Regions from separate parts of the Homo sapiens genome. Here region 2 is linked to region 1. Evidence: promoter capture Hi-C in human tissues and cell types (Jung and others, 2019). All regions are on one chromosome and are shown on one strand. Each heading gives the region's core, a stretch centred on a gene start or on the middle of the fragment in contact. The rest is flanking DNA. Distances are from core to core; before and after follow the strand shown. Region 1 holds the start of MAFA (MAF bZIP transcription factor A). Region 2 has its middle 28 kb from the start of LY6H.

Region 1 (6,863 bases), core at 4,103-6,602:
ACAGGGAAGGAGAAGGCTTCCTGAGGAGAGGAGGGCGTAACCCTGCACCCAAGCCTGTGCGTGCAGCAGAGTGGTGTGTGCTGGGGCAGCCGGATGGAAACCCTGAAGCGGAAGCACACAGCACCCTGGGGGGTCCTCAGAGCCCTGGCGGGGCACGGCCGGGTCCCAGGCAGGTGATGCACCCCCCCAGCGCCAAGCAGATGGGTCTTAGCGCTGTTGTCTCTTATAAGGGAGATGTGATGGCCGCAGAGGTGGGAGCCGTGGGCAGAGTCCAGGGCCACTGCGGGAGGTGGATGGGCGAGCAGGGGTGCAGCAGTGACTTCAGAGTGTGGTTCTGTGCCCTGTGTGCCTGGAGGGGTGCCGGCTGGGCAGTCGGATGCTGGCCTGGATGCCCCTGGGGGCTGGGAGGTGACCGAAGGGAGAGTGTCTGGGGGTCCGCCGGGAGCGCCAGCACCTTCCTGGGCTAGGCCTGTGCCCATCCTGCCTCTGGGCTGAGGGCGTTGACCCCGCCTCACTTAGCGCCCAGCAGCACGGGAGCTCCGGGAGGGCAGGGAGCTTGGGCGTGCAGTGGCTGAGCGAGTGCCCTGACTGGCGCCTGGCATACAGCAGGCGCACCATCCGTGCTTGAGTAGGGGCACAAGGAAGGGGCGGAGCAGCGACAGGCTGAGGAGGGACTCTCAGGAGGCCCTGGGCAGAGCAGCGACAGGCTGAGGAGGGACTCTCAGGAGGCCCTGGGCTTGTTTTTTGGTTGTCGTTTTTAAATGCAAATGAGCCCCTGAGTGGAGGAGGGGCGCCCGGGCAGCAGGAGCAGGGTGGGGGTGGAGGCAGCCCCAGCAGCCCCCTAGCCCAGAAGATGCAGAGCCTCTGTCTGCGGGACGGAGAAGGTTCTGTCTCCTGTGATCAGCTCCGCACAGCAAACGCGGGCACTGGGGGTGTGGGGGTTCTCCCACCTAAATACATGCCCCAAAAATGACACTCCAGACCCCACGCGAGGCTCTACGCAGTTCCGAGCACTTACTCTTGGGGCAGCAGGGTGAGGTTCAGGAGGTCCACGCATGGCCTGGCAGGGTTAGCTCAGCCCTCCTGCGCAGCTGTGCTCTGGCAGGGGTGGAGGAGCCGTGCCAGGAGGGTCCCCTCAGGCCCCTCCCTGCAGTAAAATGCATGAGCTCAGGGCCCCAGCAGACAGCAGACTGCGTGGGGTCCCATGGTGGACAGCAGAGGGAGCTGTGGGGTTCAGCTGGTGAGCACCCCAACCTCCCTGTCCCTCCTCGTACCAGGTTTCCCTCCACCCAGAGCCCTCTGGGGGCCCACGATGACTTCCTGGGCCCTACACCAGCCCCCATGGGCTCTGATCTTGACCCAGCCACCCTGGGCCCTTCCAGGCCCCTCCCAGGCAGTGGCTCTGGGCTCCCTGCTCCCCGGCCTGAAGGGCTTGCCCCTCCATCTGCTCAGGTGTCTGTGAGGCCCCCCAACCCCACCAACCCAGAACTCCCCACCTAGCCAAGCTTCCGCCTTCTCACAAACGAGTGTGGGGGACAGGCCCTGAGGTAGCCTCATGACGCACCCCCCTGCCCAGCGTTCCCACCCTTGGGTGACCCCTTTCCTCCGACAGACTCCTGGAGGGTGGCCAGATGCCGCAGCTGTGATCACGGCACCTTACGCCCCGCTGAGAGCCTCTCCCTGCTGGCCCGAGGCGTCAGGGCCTGTGCTGGGGCTGCACCTGGTGAGGAGCTCAGGGTGGCCTCCAGCCTCCAGCCAGCAAGAAGCCGGTCCTCAGTTGTACAGATTTAAGGAAATAATTCTGCCAACAGCCTGACGATGCCTGGTGGCACAGCCCTTCTCGTCCCACGTTGAAACTGTAGCCCGGCCACCTCCTAGACTGCACCCTGGACGGGGGCTCCTGCTAAGCCCTGCCTGGACACCTGGCTCACAGAAGCCACAAGACCATAAATGTGTGTTAAGTTACTAAACGTGTGGTAATTGGTGAGACAGCAATAGAAGGCAAATCCACTATCATTTTACTCATTATTATTATTTGAGACAGAATCACTCTGTTGGCCAGGCTGAAGTGCACTGGCGTGATCTCGGCTCACTGCAACCTCCGCCTCCCGGGTTCAAGCGATTCTCCTGCCTCAGCCTCCCAAGTAGCTGGGACCACAGGTGTGCACCACCACGCCCGGCTAATTTTTGTATTTTTTAAGTAGAGACGGGCTCTTGCCAGGTTGGCCAGGCTGGTCTCAAAATCCTGACCTTGTGATCTGCCCACCTCGGCCTCCCAAAGTGCTGGGATTACAGGCATGAGCCACTGTGTCCGGCCTCATTTTACTTACTATTTTTATGGCTGATTTTCTGTTCTCTGAGGCCCACTCGGCAGACTGTATTTTCCAAAAACACTACAACAGTGCATCTCAGCCCACAGGCCCCTTCCTCACATGACCTACACAGGCAGTGTCCGTACCCCTGCCCAGGGGGGTGGCCGACCTCTACACACGAGGACCACCAGCATGGTGCAGTGTTCTGAGGCACATGCACCCCTCCACCTTCCTCGGATGCACACACTGGGAACCAGCAGCCATGCTGTGAGGAAGCCCAACCAGCTGCAGGGAGCAGCCCTGTGGAGGTGTCACAAGCAGCTGTTTTGGCCGACAGCTCTCACCATCTGCCAGGCCTGGGTGTGAAGACCCTGCCCAGTGGCACCATCCATCAGCTGTCCCGTTACCCCAACCCCCAAGTCCTCCCAGCTGTCAGGACCAGAGGCAAGCTGTGCCCCTATTCCCAGGACACATCTCCCCCTTACAGAGCCCATGGATGAAATAATACTTGTGCCATCAAGCTCCAGGGGGCTTCTCAACAAGGGACCCTGGCCACCTCCCTGATGGGATGTGCCCCCTAGGCAGGCTGGCTGACGTACTCTAGGTGCTCAAGAGAAGCCTGTTGGGTGCATTGAGTTACCCAGCCACACAGACTGCCCCTGCAGAATTCTGTGAGGACCAAATGCTGAAAGTTTGGAGGGTGTGAGAAGCCCTTGGGTTGGGAGGCTGGCGGGAAGGGAAAGCGCTTCTGGGAGCCCAGGGAACAGCGGAGCACAGGCGAATTCTAGGGAGCCATCCTGGCTTGGTGGTGACAGCACCAAGCCTCAAGGAGGGCTTGGCAGGCTTGGGGCGGATGGGTTGGGGTCAATCTTTGAGGCCACCCCAGCCTCCACCACCTTCTCCCACCTCTCAGAGCAAGATGAGGCACTTAGGCTTCCTGTGGGTGGTGGCGGGATGGGGGTGCCACTGAGTCCAAGCATGGCTGTGGGGTCAGCGTCCCTCAGCCTGAGGTCACAGCTGTGGCCCCGGGGAAGGTTCCCACTGCAACAGCCTGGGGTCAGGCGTCTCCTTCATTCCCACGGGTGTGCTGGAGTCCTCCTGGGCTGGTGACCAAACACCCTCTCCTGGTCTCCTTGGCCTGGCAGGAGCCACAGTGCGATGGGCGGGAGGGGGGGACAGTGGGGACACAGCCCGGTGCAAACACTCTCTCTTTCCTCCTCAACCCCCTTTCCAGTGTGCCCCAGGGCCTCCAGGGTGTGGTACCCAGAAATGCTGCTAGACCCTTGGAGGGGCCGTGGGAGGGCCCTGTAGCCCCAAGGCCTCTCCTGGGGCTGCAGGTGCAGACAACCTGGACTACCACCAGCTCCACTGCGCGGCGGCATCCTCCCTTCCCGGGCCTCCCTCTCAACACGGGGTGCCATAAAGGAAACCCCACACCCCTGGCTGGCTGACCACTCGTGTGGTCTCAAGTCCAGGTACCCAGTGTGGGGACTTGGCTCTGCTGCATGCCCACTTCATTTCTTCATCTGTAGAAGGGTGGGGAGCTCAGAGCCCCCTCTGGGACAGGATCGGGGGAGAGGGGTCCCTGCAGGTGGGTCCTCATGCTGTCCTTGGCCCTCCCTTGCGGGGAGGAAGGCCTGGTCTTCCCAAATCAGCAGTCCCAGCTCTGCCCAGAGGAGTGGGAGGGCCCAGGGAAGGGCCAGGGACACCCCGAGACACCTTAGGAAGCAGATGTTCAGTCCTCACTTCATGACAGTCTTCTTGTTACAAAACAATAGATCTTTGTAGAGGGAAGGAGGTGAGAGCCTGGTACTAAATCTGCGGCGCCGTGACCAGGCCTCCCTGTGGCCTCTGCGCAACTCCTTCCAGGCTTTTTTTCTCTACACAGGTGGTTACATTTTAGACTTTTTTTTTTTTTTTTTAAATTGCTGAAGTCATAGAACAGCAATGGAGAGAATTTCGAGAAGAAACAATAGGCCCACTTCGGGTCACCGGCCTTGTAACTCCTGGCGCAACCCTCCCATCACCCGGCTCGCTGGTGTCGGGGACCTGGGGTCACAGGCCCACCGCCCATCGTCACCTCCTTTGCCCCGTGAACCGGAGCCGTCTCCTCCCAGCAGGTGCACGGCCGCCAGGTGGAAATCCCCGCCTTCCCGTCTCAGTTACCCCCCGTCCCACTCCAGGCCCAGCAAGGCGCCTCCAGCCCTGCGGGGGGCGAAAGTGGGCAGTGGTGGCCGCTTGGGCGGGGATTCCTAACGCCCTGAGGGGCTGCCAGCCCGTGGGCCCCGCCCCCGCCGCTCGCACCCACCCGCGTTGTCCCGCGACCCCCACAGTCCTGCGCTCTCCGCGGCCCCCCACAAGCCGGCCCTCCGTCCCCGGCCCCTCGCGCCGCCCCGCACGCGTGTGTCCCCCTCCGCCCGCCCCGTGCTTCCCGGTGCCCGGAGGTGCCGGCAACTTTGTTGACCAAATTCCTGAACGCGTCTGAGCCGCGGGCTAAAAATAACCGGCTCAGCGCGCCGCGCTCTGCCGGGCCGCGCGGTGTCACCCGTGTCCAGAGGCCCGGAGGTCCCGCTGCCGCCGCCGCCGCCGCTAGCGGAGCTGCCCCCGGCCCCCAGGCCCGGCCGCAAACCCAGGGGGCCGAGGGGGCGTCCCGCCGCGTGGCCCGAGGCGGACGAGGCCCCGAGGGGGTCCCCGGGCGCGGTCCCCGTCTGCTTCCCCGGACTCTCCGGCCGCCGGGTGTGGGAGCTGAGGCCCCTGGAGACGGCAGTTGTCCCCTGAGGCGGCGCGCCCTCTGCCCGTGCAGTGCCCCGTGATGGCCACCAGAGGGCCCTGCCCTCTCCTCTAGCCGGCGGCCCGTCCCTACCTCTTCCCACAGCTGTTTCCCGCAGGAGATTGACAGCTGGGCTCTGAGTTGCCATGGGGATAAGCAAATGAGGGCGGCGGGGCTGGGGCTCCGATTGGCCCGGGGGCGCGCGCCCCTCCCGGGGAGGCGGGCCCAGGCACCCGGCTCTATAAAGGGGCGCGCGCGGCTTCGCGTTTAGCCGTGGGAGGCGGGGCCGGCCGGCGGCGCGGGTGGGGCGCGGGAGCGGTCCCGGAGCAGCCCGAGGCGGCGGCCGCGGGGAGGAGGCGGCGACGCGGGCCCGGGGTCGCCCGAGACACCTGGCCAGCGGTGCCCCTAGCGCGCCGCCCCGGAGTTGACCACGTGAAACTTTTCCCTGCGCCCCTCGGCGCCGCCGCCCCGCGCCGGCGCCCCCCCGCCCCCGCCGGGACCGCCGCCCGCGGGGAGCAGGGGGGGGAGAGGCCTGCAGCTCCCCCCCCACTCCCACGCCGCCCGTCGGGGCGCGGCCGGGCGCGGGCCCCGGGCGATGGCCGCGGAGCTGGCGATGGGCGCCGAGCTGCCCAGCAGCCCGCTGGCCATCGAGTACGTCAACGACTTCGACCTGATGAAGTTCGAGGTGAAGAAGGAGCCTCCCGAGGCCGAGCGCTTCTGCCACCGCCTGCCGCCAGGCTCGCTGTCCTCGACGCCGCTCAGCACGCCCTGCTCCTCCGTGCCCTCCTCGCCCAGCTTCTGCGCGCCCAGCCCGGGCACCGGCGGCGGCGGCGGCGCGGGGGGCGGCGGCGGCTCGTCTCAGGCCGGGGGCGCCCCCGGGCCGCCGAGCGGGGGCCCCGGCGCCGTCGGGGGCACCTCGGGGAAGCCGGCGCTGGAGGATCTGTACTGGATGAGCGGCTACCAGCATCACCTCAACCCCGAGGCGCTCAACCTGACGCCCGAGGACGCGGTGGAGGCGCTCATCGGCAGCGGCCACCACGGCGCGCACCACGGCGCGCACCACCCGGCGGCCGCCGCAGCCTACGAGGCTTTCCGCGGCCCGGGCTTCGCGGGCGGCGGCGGAGCGGACGACATGGGCGCCGGCCACCACCACGGCGCGCACCACGCCGCCCACCATCACCACGCCGCCCACCACCACCACCACCACCACCACCACCATGGCGGCGCGGGACACGGCGGTGGCGCGGGCCACCACGTGCGCCTGGAGGAGCGCTTCTCCGACGACCAGCTGGTGTCCATGTCGGTGCGCGAGCTGAACCGGCAGCTCCGCGGCTTCAGCAAGGAGGAGGTCATCCGGCTCAAGCAGAAGCGGCGCACGCTCAAGAACCGCGGCTACGCGCAGTCCTGCCGCTTCAAGCGGGTGCAGCAGCGGCACATTCTGGAGAGCGAGAAGTGCCAACTCCAGAGCCAGGTGGAGCAGCTGAAGCTGGAGGTGGGGCGCCTGGCCAAAGAGCGGGACCTGTACAAGGAGAAATACGAGAAGCTGGCGGGCCGGGGCGGCCCCGGGAGCGCGGGCGGGGCCGGTTTCCCGCGGGAGCCTTCGCCGCCGCAGGCCGGTCCCGGCGGGGCCAAGGGCACGGCCGACTTCTTCCTGTAGGCGCCGGACCCCGAGCCCGCGCCGCCGTCGCCGGGGACAAGTTCGCGCAGGCCTCTCGGGGCCTCGGCTCGGACTCCGCGGTACAGGACGTGGACACCAGGCCCGGCCCGGCCGTGCTGGCCCC
Region 2 (6,863 bases), core at 2,295-4,794, 300 kb after region 1:
TTGGTGCGAAAGTAATTGCTGTTTTGTCTATTACTTTCAATGGCAAAACCCACAGTTACTTTTGCATCAACCGAATACGAGGTACACCTTGAGCCTAGCTGTGCGTGCAGGACCCCTGAGGCAGGAATGTGTCGCTGATGGCTTCATGGGCTTCTGGTGCTGATTGGCTGGAGACTGGCGAAGCTACATCAGGAATAAGGGGCTTTTGTTCTCTTTCCTGCCATATCAGGTATCAGGAACTTGTAAGCATCTGGCCATCTGCTGGTGTCTGGCAGGGCTCTTGACCTTGCAAGAGAGCTGGGTGCTGAGCACAAGGGGTGAGGGACGGAGAGCCCAAGAGGCTTCACACAAGGGACAAGTCAATGTGGCCTCCTGACCTTACCTATCCCGCGTCAGCGACAGTCTGTGTTTTCTGTGCACGTGAGAAAGTGTGTTTTTGATGCATTTACCTTTTTTTTTTTTTTTTTTTGAGACTGAGTCTCTGTCTATCACCCAGGCTGGAGTGCAGTGGCCCGATCTCGGCTCACTGCAATCTCTGTCTCCCAGGTTCAAGCGATTCTCGTGCCTCAGCCTCCTGAGTAGCTGAGATTACAGGTGTGTGCCACCATGCCCGGCTAATTTTTGTATTTTTATTTTAGTAGAGATGGGGTTTCACCATGTTTGCCAGGCTGGTCTTGAACTCCTGACCTCAAGTGATCCACCCACCTCGGCCTCCCAAAGTGTTGGGATTACAGGCGTGAGCCACCGCGCCCGGCCTAGGATTGCATTTATCTTTGATGTCTGTATGATACACAGGTCTTCTAAGCCCTCAGCTACTCTTCGTCCGCTTGGCCTTACTGATAGAATGCTAACAGTGCTATGTTAAAGTCTCTCATGACTAGTGTTTTTGTATTTATTTCTCCTTCTGTCTCCGGAGTGTCTGCTTTATAAAAGTGGCTGCTTTATTATTTGGTGCATAGTCATAACTGTTATTTTTACATTATGAATTGCGGATTTTTGCATTAAAATATTTGTTGTCGCATTTAATGTTTTATTTTGTCATGACTCTGGCTTTCTTATTGTCCATTTGCCCACATTTTTAGTTTTGGCCTGTCAGAATCATTTTTTAGGTGTATATCTTTTATTTGGCATATAGTTGGTCTTGTTTTATGACCCAAACTAAAAATGTTTTTCTTTTTTTTTTTTTTTGAGACGGAGTCTCGCTCTGTTGCCCAGGCTGGAGTGCAGTGGCGCGATCTCGGCTCACTGCAAGCTCCGCCTCCCAGGTTCATGCCATTCTCCTGCCTCAGCCTCCTGAGTAGCTGGGACAACAGGCGCCCACCACCACGCCCGGCTAATTTTTTGTATTTTTAGTAAAGATGAGGTTTTACCATGTTAGCCAGGATGGTCTCAAACTCCTGACCTCGTGATCCGCCCGCCTCAGCCTCCCAAAGTTCTGGGATTACAGGCGTGAGCCACCGCACCTGGCCCTAAAAATGTTTTTAACAGGTGAGTGAAGCCCACTTATTTGTGTTAATGTGACTGACATTTTGGTCTGAACTCTACCATATTACCCACCGGAGCGGGACAGGGGCCCGTGTGGCTGGAGCCCAGACAGGCAGGACGTGTGGGAGGATGGAGACCAGACCGCACAGGGCTGTGCCTCCCTCAGGGTCACCAGGAGACAGAAATCACACAGCCAGCAGGCAGGGGAAGTTTACTGGGGTTATTAACAGGTAGTAGGGGCTGGATATTGGGAACAGCTGTGAAGGGGCACAGAGACCTCTAAGAGGCAGGAGGGGCGGGCCCAAAAGCAACCACAGCTTGAGGGCTGGGCGGAGCCAAATGTGTTTGGGGGAGGTCCCTCATCAAGGCTGAGCTTCAGACCCTACTGAAGCAGCAGCGCCTCAGCCAAGGCTGGCAGGAGAGCGCCCTTTGGGAGCTGCAGCAGGAGCCGTCCACACTGGCAAGGAACCGTCCCACTGGCAAGGAGCTGTCCACGCTGGCAAGGCCCTCAGAGGCCACTAGGAGCTGTTTGCTGGGCACCACTGAAACTGCGGGCTGGAAGCTCCTCTGGGTGTCCTGAGGGCCAGGCCAGTGAGTGCCGCAGGGGCAGGTAGGAGGCAAAGCAATAGTGCGGGATTGGGAGGTGGCTGCCCGAAGCGTCCTCCCCTCTGAGGAAGGGTCAGTGCAGGAGCAGCGCTGGAGGATACGGCTCTGCGGCTGCAGCTGGACTGGAGGCAGAGGGTGTTTGGAGCACAGAGCCACAGGGGTCCCCAGTGCTGGCTGCTTTGCAGGGCGGCTGGACTGTTTGGTGACTAATGGAAGCACTGGGGAAGCCATTGAAGGGTTTTAATCAGTGGCATGACCTGATCTGTATTTCAGAAAGGTCACTGCGGATCCAGTCTGAAGAGTGGAGTGGGCTGGAGACCCTGGGTGCTGATGCCAGGCGACGGTGGGGCTGGGGAGGGCTGCACAGGTGCGTTTTGTAAAATTATAATGGACACGAGATAGACGCTCGGCATCCTGATCCAGGAGAAGTCTCAACAAGGGACAGCTGGTGTGGCTGAGTGTGTCCGGAAAGAAGGGAGATGGGTTAAATAGTAAAAAATATTAAGACTAATGTTGGTAAATGCTCCTAATCATTTTCTAGATATTAATTATTCCAAATGTTAATTATCTTCGTGACCTTGGTGTGCAAGGACTGGCTGGTGTCCTGAAAAGCACTCTTGGAAGTGCCAGGGTTCCGCTGTGCTGTGCCCCACTGAGATTTCCTTAACAGTCCATCCTTGTCATTCCTGGAGTCTGTATGCGATTCTTCTACTTGCTAAAATGTAGCTGTAAGGCCAGGTGCGGTGGCTCACACCTGTAAATCCAGCACTTTGGGAGGCCGAGGTGGGCTGATCACGAGGTCAGGAGTTCAAGACCAGCCTGACCAATATGGTGAAACCCCGTGACTTTAAAAATACAAAATTAGCTGGGCGTGGTGGTTACTTGGGAGGCTGAAGCAGGAGAATCGCTCGAACATGGGAGGTGGAGGTTGCAGTGAGCCAAGACCACACGGCTGTACTCCAGCCTGGGCGACAGAGCTAGACTCCGTCTCAAAAAAAAAAAGAAGCTGTAATCCCCAAACACTTACTTGCACGGAGCGGCGACAATTCTGAGTCACCGGAGTGCGTTCTTGGCTGAGGTTGCGCAGGGCGGCCTTCTTGCTCCAGCTTGTGCTGCAATCAAGAGCCCTTTTCGTGGTCTATCTGGTGCCATTTTTTTTTTTTTTGCATTTTTGTGCTTTTTGTGGGTGACTTTGCTGTTTGCAATGTCCCCAAGCATTGTCCCGAGGTGCTGCCTCACGTCCTAGGCAAGGAATGCCTGGGTCAGAGAAGCTTTGTCCAGGCTTACGGTGCTTGGCACCGATTGCAATGTTAATGAAGCCACCACGTGCATTCAGTAAGGGATCTTTAAATAGAAACACAGAGAATGAGATGATATATTGATCGGCTGATGAAAACGGAGCCAGAGGCTTGCGGGACCCTAACCCTGTGTGTCTGCTAGCAGCAGGGGCTCAGCGTTCTCTAACTCAGCCTTCGCAGGGGCTCTGCAGACTGGAGCTAAGGTGGGTTGTGAGAAGTGGTGGCAGGTGCAGCCCAGGAGAGCCTTGCAAACAGCTGCCTTAGATGACCGGGTCTCGAGAGCTGTGTCAGACAGCGTGGGGTTGGTTTTCTGGGCCTCCATCGCCTGCTCTTTGGCTGGGGCATGAAGAAGCTAAACGGTGGTTTCTTCCTTGGCCAGGAAAGGAGGACACACTGTTAGGTTTTTCAGTTTCCTAACAGTTGTCCAAAGAGAATCAGAACTGCCAGTGGGAAGAGGAATATTTAAGGGGAATAATCCCGGCTCTGATTATCCACGCATAGGGAGGATAATCCAGTCCAGCCGGCTCAGGGGCTCAGGTGGGTTCCATCACGGTCTTTGTTCACCCATGAGAACGCGGCTGAGGGAGCAGGGGGCCTCATTCCGGGCACATGCGGCCCACACAGCTGTCCTTTTACATTGGTGGCACTCAGGCTGCGGGAGAACAGCGATGGGTTGAGGGGCCGTTGTCAGCACTGCTCCCTCAGGACTCAGGCTACTGCCCGGCCCCGACCTGGCCTCTGACCTCTACAGCATCAGATGCCAGGGATGAGAGTGTTCAGTAGCCCCTCCTGGGTGAGGAAGGATGCACACTGGCCCAGGGCTGGGGACGGGTGTCCGATTTCCATCGATTCCCGTATGAGTGGCCTTTACAGCCTCCCGGGCCTGTGTCTGGATCCTGGAAGAGGTCGCCCTCTGCTGTCCCTACTCAGGATAACAAGCCTCCTGCTCTTCATGATGAGCGTGCAGGGACACTGTTTCTGCCGCACTCAGGGCCCCAAGACCAAATTCTAAAATCTCCCCAAACCTTCAGCAGGGTGGGGCCAACCCTCATGAGACCAATGCATCTGTTTCTGCCTGGAGATCGCTGGGGCTGGTTCACACTTGGCACGTTCGGACTCGCAGATCAAGCTCTGAGGCAGGGAGGAGGCAGCAATGCCCCCTCCACATGCAGGCAGCGCCTGGCAGGTCCGGGGTCACCCCAGAGTGGAGGCCAGGCTCCTGGGCATTCCCCACCCTGGGATCCCTGCACTGTTCTCATCTGTCCTCCGAGAGGGGCAGACGGCAGCGACGGCTGGAGGCCGCACTCATGGGCACTGCAGACTTAGAGAAGCCAAAGTGCGTTTTATGCTGAGCCAAGAGTGAGTGGCAACCCGGAACACAGGTTCCATCGGCTGAGGAGGCAGGAGGGGTGGTTCCACAGCCTGAGAGGGGCAGTGCGCTCAGGGGGACCTCGCAGTCCTGCCTGGCCTCGGTGCCTTGTACACAGGTGGAGTGGACACGTGGCTGGCACACAGGGTGGAAAGCTGGCACCTACTGGAGCCTCAGGGTCTGCAGGGGCGACTGTTCTGTCCTGCCTCATCTGACAGGCACGGCAGTGACCAGGACACGTCAGTGAGACAATGCAGATTCCAGCCTCATAGGCCAGGCCTGCCTCCTACTACCCGTGTGGCCAAACTGCAGCCATCTTGGTCCACTTTTGAAAATGTTTCTTTCGGATCTTTCTGGCTGGTGCCTCTGCTGCGGAATAGCAGCTCCAGTGGGTTACCTGTCAGGAGCGCCCCTGGAGGTGCAGCTTCCCTCGTGCTCTGAATTACTCAGGTGAAGTCAGCAGGAATCCGATTCCCATCTCTGGGAAAAGCACCTCTGGCTTCTTTATCATCAGCCTTTACTTGGCCCCAGGTCTGGGAGAGGTGGCAAGAGTATTACCCTCTTGCTCTAGGGCCATCACGGAAGGAGCCACTTGCACCCCTGCAGGATCACGGGACCCTGTGGGTATCCCCCTGCCTGCAGGAGCCCCCCATTTCCACGGTTCCTGTTGGATCCCCCACTGCAGCTCTGCCTTCGAGCAGGCACCCGGCACAGCCCTGTGGTGCTGTGTCTCGGCCTGCTGCTGCCACAGGACTCGCCGGTGAGGAGCCACGGGGCAGCCCTCCTGCTGGCCACATTTGCAGGAAGTCCCGCCATGGGGTCCAGTCATGACCAGTCTAATGTCCCTTCTGGAGCCTGTGCCGCCCACTTTAGTGCTTGGGCATGGGGTCCTGGGACCACTGGCTCAGGCAGAAGAAGAGAAACCTTTGGGAGGTGGGGAAGGTACAGAGGGTCCAATTGCACCCCCCACACGCCCTCCTCCTTCCCCCAGCCCTGAAGCCTGTGAGCGGCCTGCCTGCCTTCCCCTCAGGCTCAGTCTGAAGACACCCCAGTTAAGCGACTCCACCAACTGGTCACGTTTCTCACACCTGCCTGAATAACCTGTCTTCCAGTGGCCCATTGCAATTTTCAGCATGGCCACAGCTGGACGGGACGAGCAGTGTGGTGCACACGTATGCTTGCCGTGTTTCCTGGACCGTCTCAGTGTCCTGGTGCCAGCAAGAGTGGGTACCTGGATCAGAAGAAGTAGGTCCAAGTCGGCTGAAATTGACAGAGGACTCACCATTCTAAACACCTCATGCTGTTCCCAAGGTTGCTTCTGTTACAAATAAGCCAAGTCCAGAATAGAGTGTCGTGAGAGCGTGAGATACAGCTTAGCTCCTTCCTGGAATCTCTGGAGTGACAAGAGTCTCTTTTGTAGTGAGTGTGATGAAGTTTGGGTTGATCATCAATAGCCAACGATGCAATCAATCATGTATATGTAATGAAGCTTCCATAAAAACCCAAAAGGAGCTTTCAACAGTTGGACGCACGCAGGTGCCTGGAGGACGGCGCCCAGGAGGGCACAGGAGCTCTGCCATTCTCCCCTGTGCCTTGCAAAACCCAAGGAACTTCCCATCTCCAATGCGCGGATGTTGGGTGGAGGCCTGGGGCTGTCTGGAAGCTGCACATGTACGTGCCTGTCTCCTCCACCCCCCGTGCCTCCGCACCTTCGTCACAGCCTGTGTCATAAATGGGTAAACGCAGGGCGGCGTGTCCCTGAGTCCTGTGAACCACTCCAGCAATTCATCAAACCGGAGGAGGGGGTTGTGGGAACCCTGATTCATGGCAGTTCCGTCAGAAGCCACACCCGGGGCTTGCAACTGGCATCAGAAGTGGGGCCCCTTGCACGGGACTGAGCCCTCGATCTGTGGGATCTGACGCTACCTCCAGGCGGATGCGGTGGGAAATGACTTAAACCGTAGGATGCTCAGACAGTGTCCTGCAGCACTGCTTGGTGTGCAGGAAACAAGGCCCTGCCCACATCTGGTGCAAGAGTGCCTGTGGCTGTGTTGGGATGGGAAGAGCTCCTTGGTGTGTCCTGTATTGCTTGGTGTGTCCTGAGT

What was found. The method cuts DNA at HindIII sites, captures the fragments that hold promoters and counts their contacts. A contact is called where the count stands out against the background at its distance.
Region 2: a contact is called between a fragment that was not itself captured here and the fragment with the promoter of MAFA in region 1, in 1 of the 25 tissues and cell types used here (dorsolateral prefrontal cortex).

What each region holds. Positions count from the first base shown.
Region 1 is chr8:143,429,221-143,436,083 of GRCh38, reverse strand. It overlaps MAFA (MAF bZIP transcription factor A), which reads left to right and starts at 5,352. Exons shown (of 1, transcript NM_201589.4): 1 at 5,352-6,863. The coding sequence starts at 5,678. The coding sequence ends at 6,739. RefSeq lists silencers at 119-293, 4,996-5,435 and an enhancer at 1-317. The HindIII fragment of the contact is 28,870 bases long and covers 1-6,863 here.
Region 2 is chr8:143,128,643-143,135,505 of GRCh38, reverse strand. No RefSeq gene overlaps it. Among named protein-coding and RNA genes, the nearest start is that of LY6H, 28 kb to the left of the region's middle. The HindIII fragment of the contact is 7,324 bases long and covers 1-6,863 here.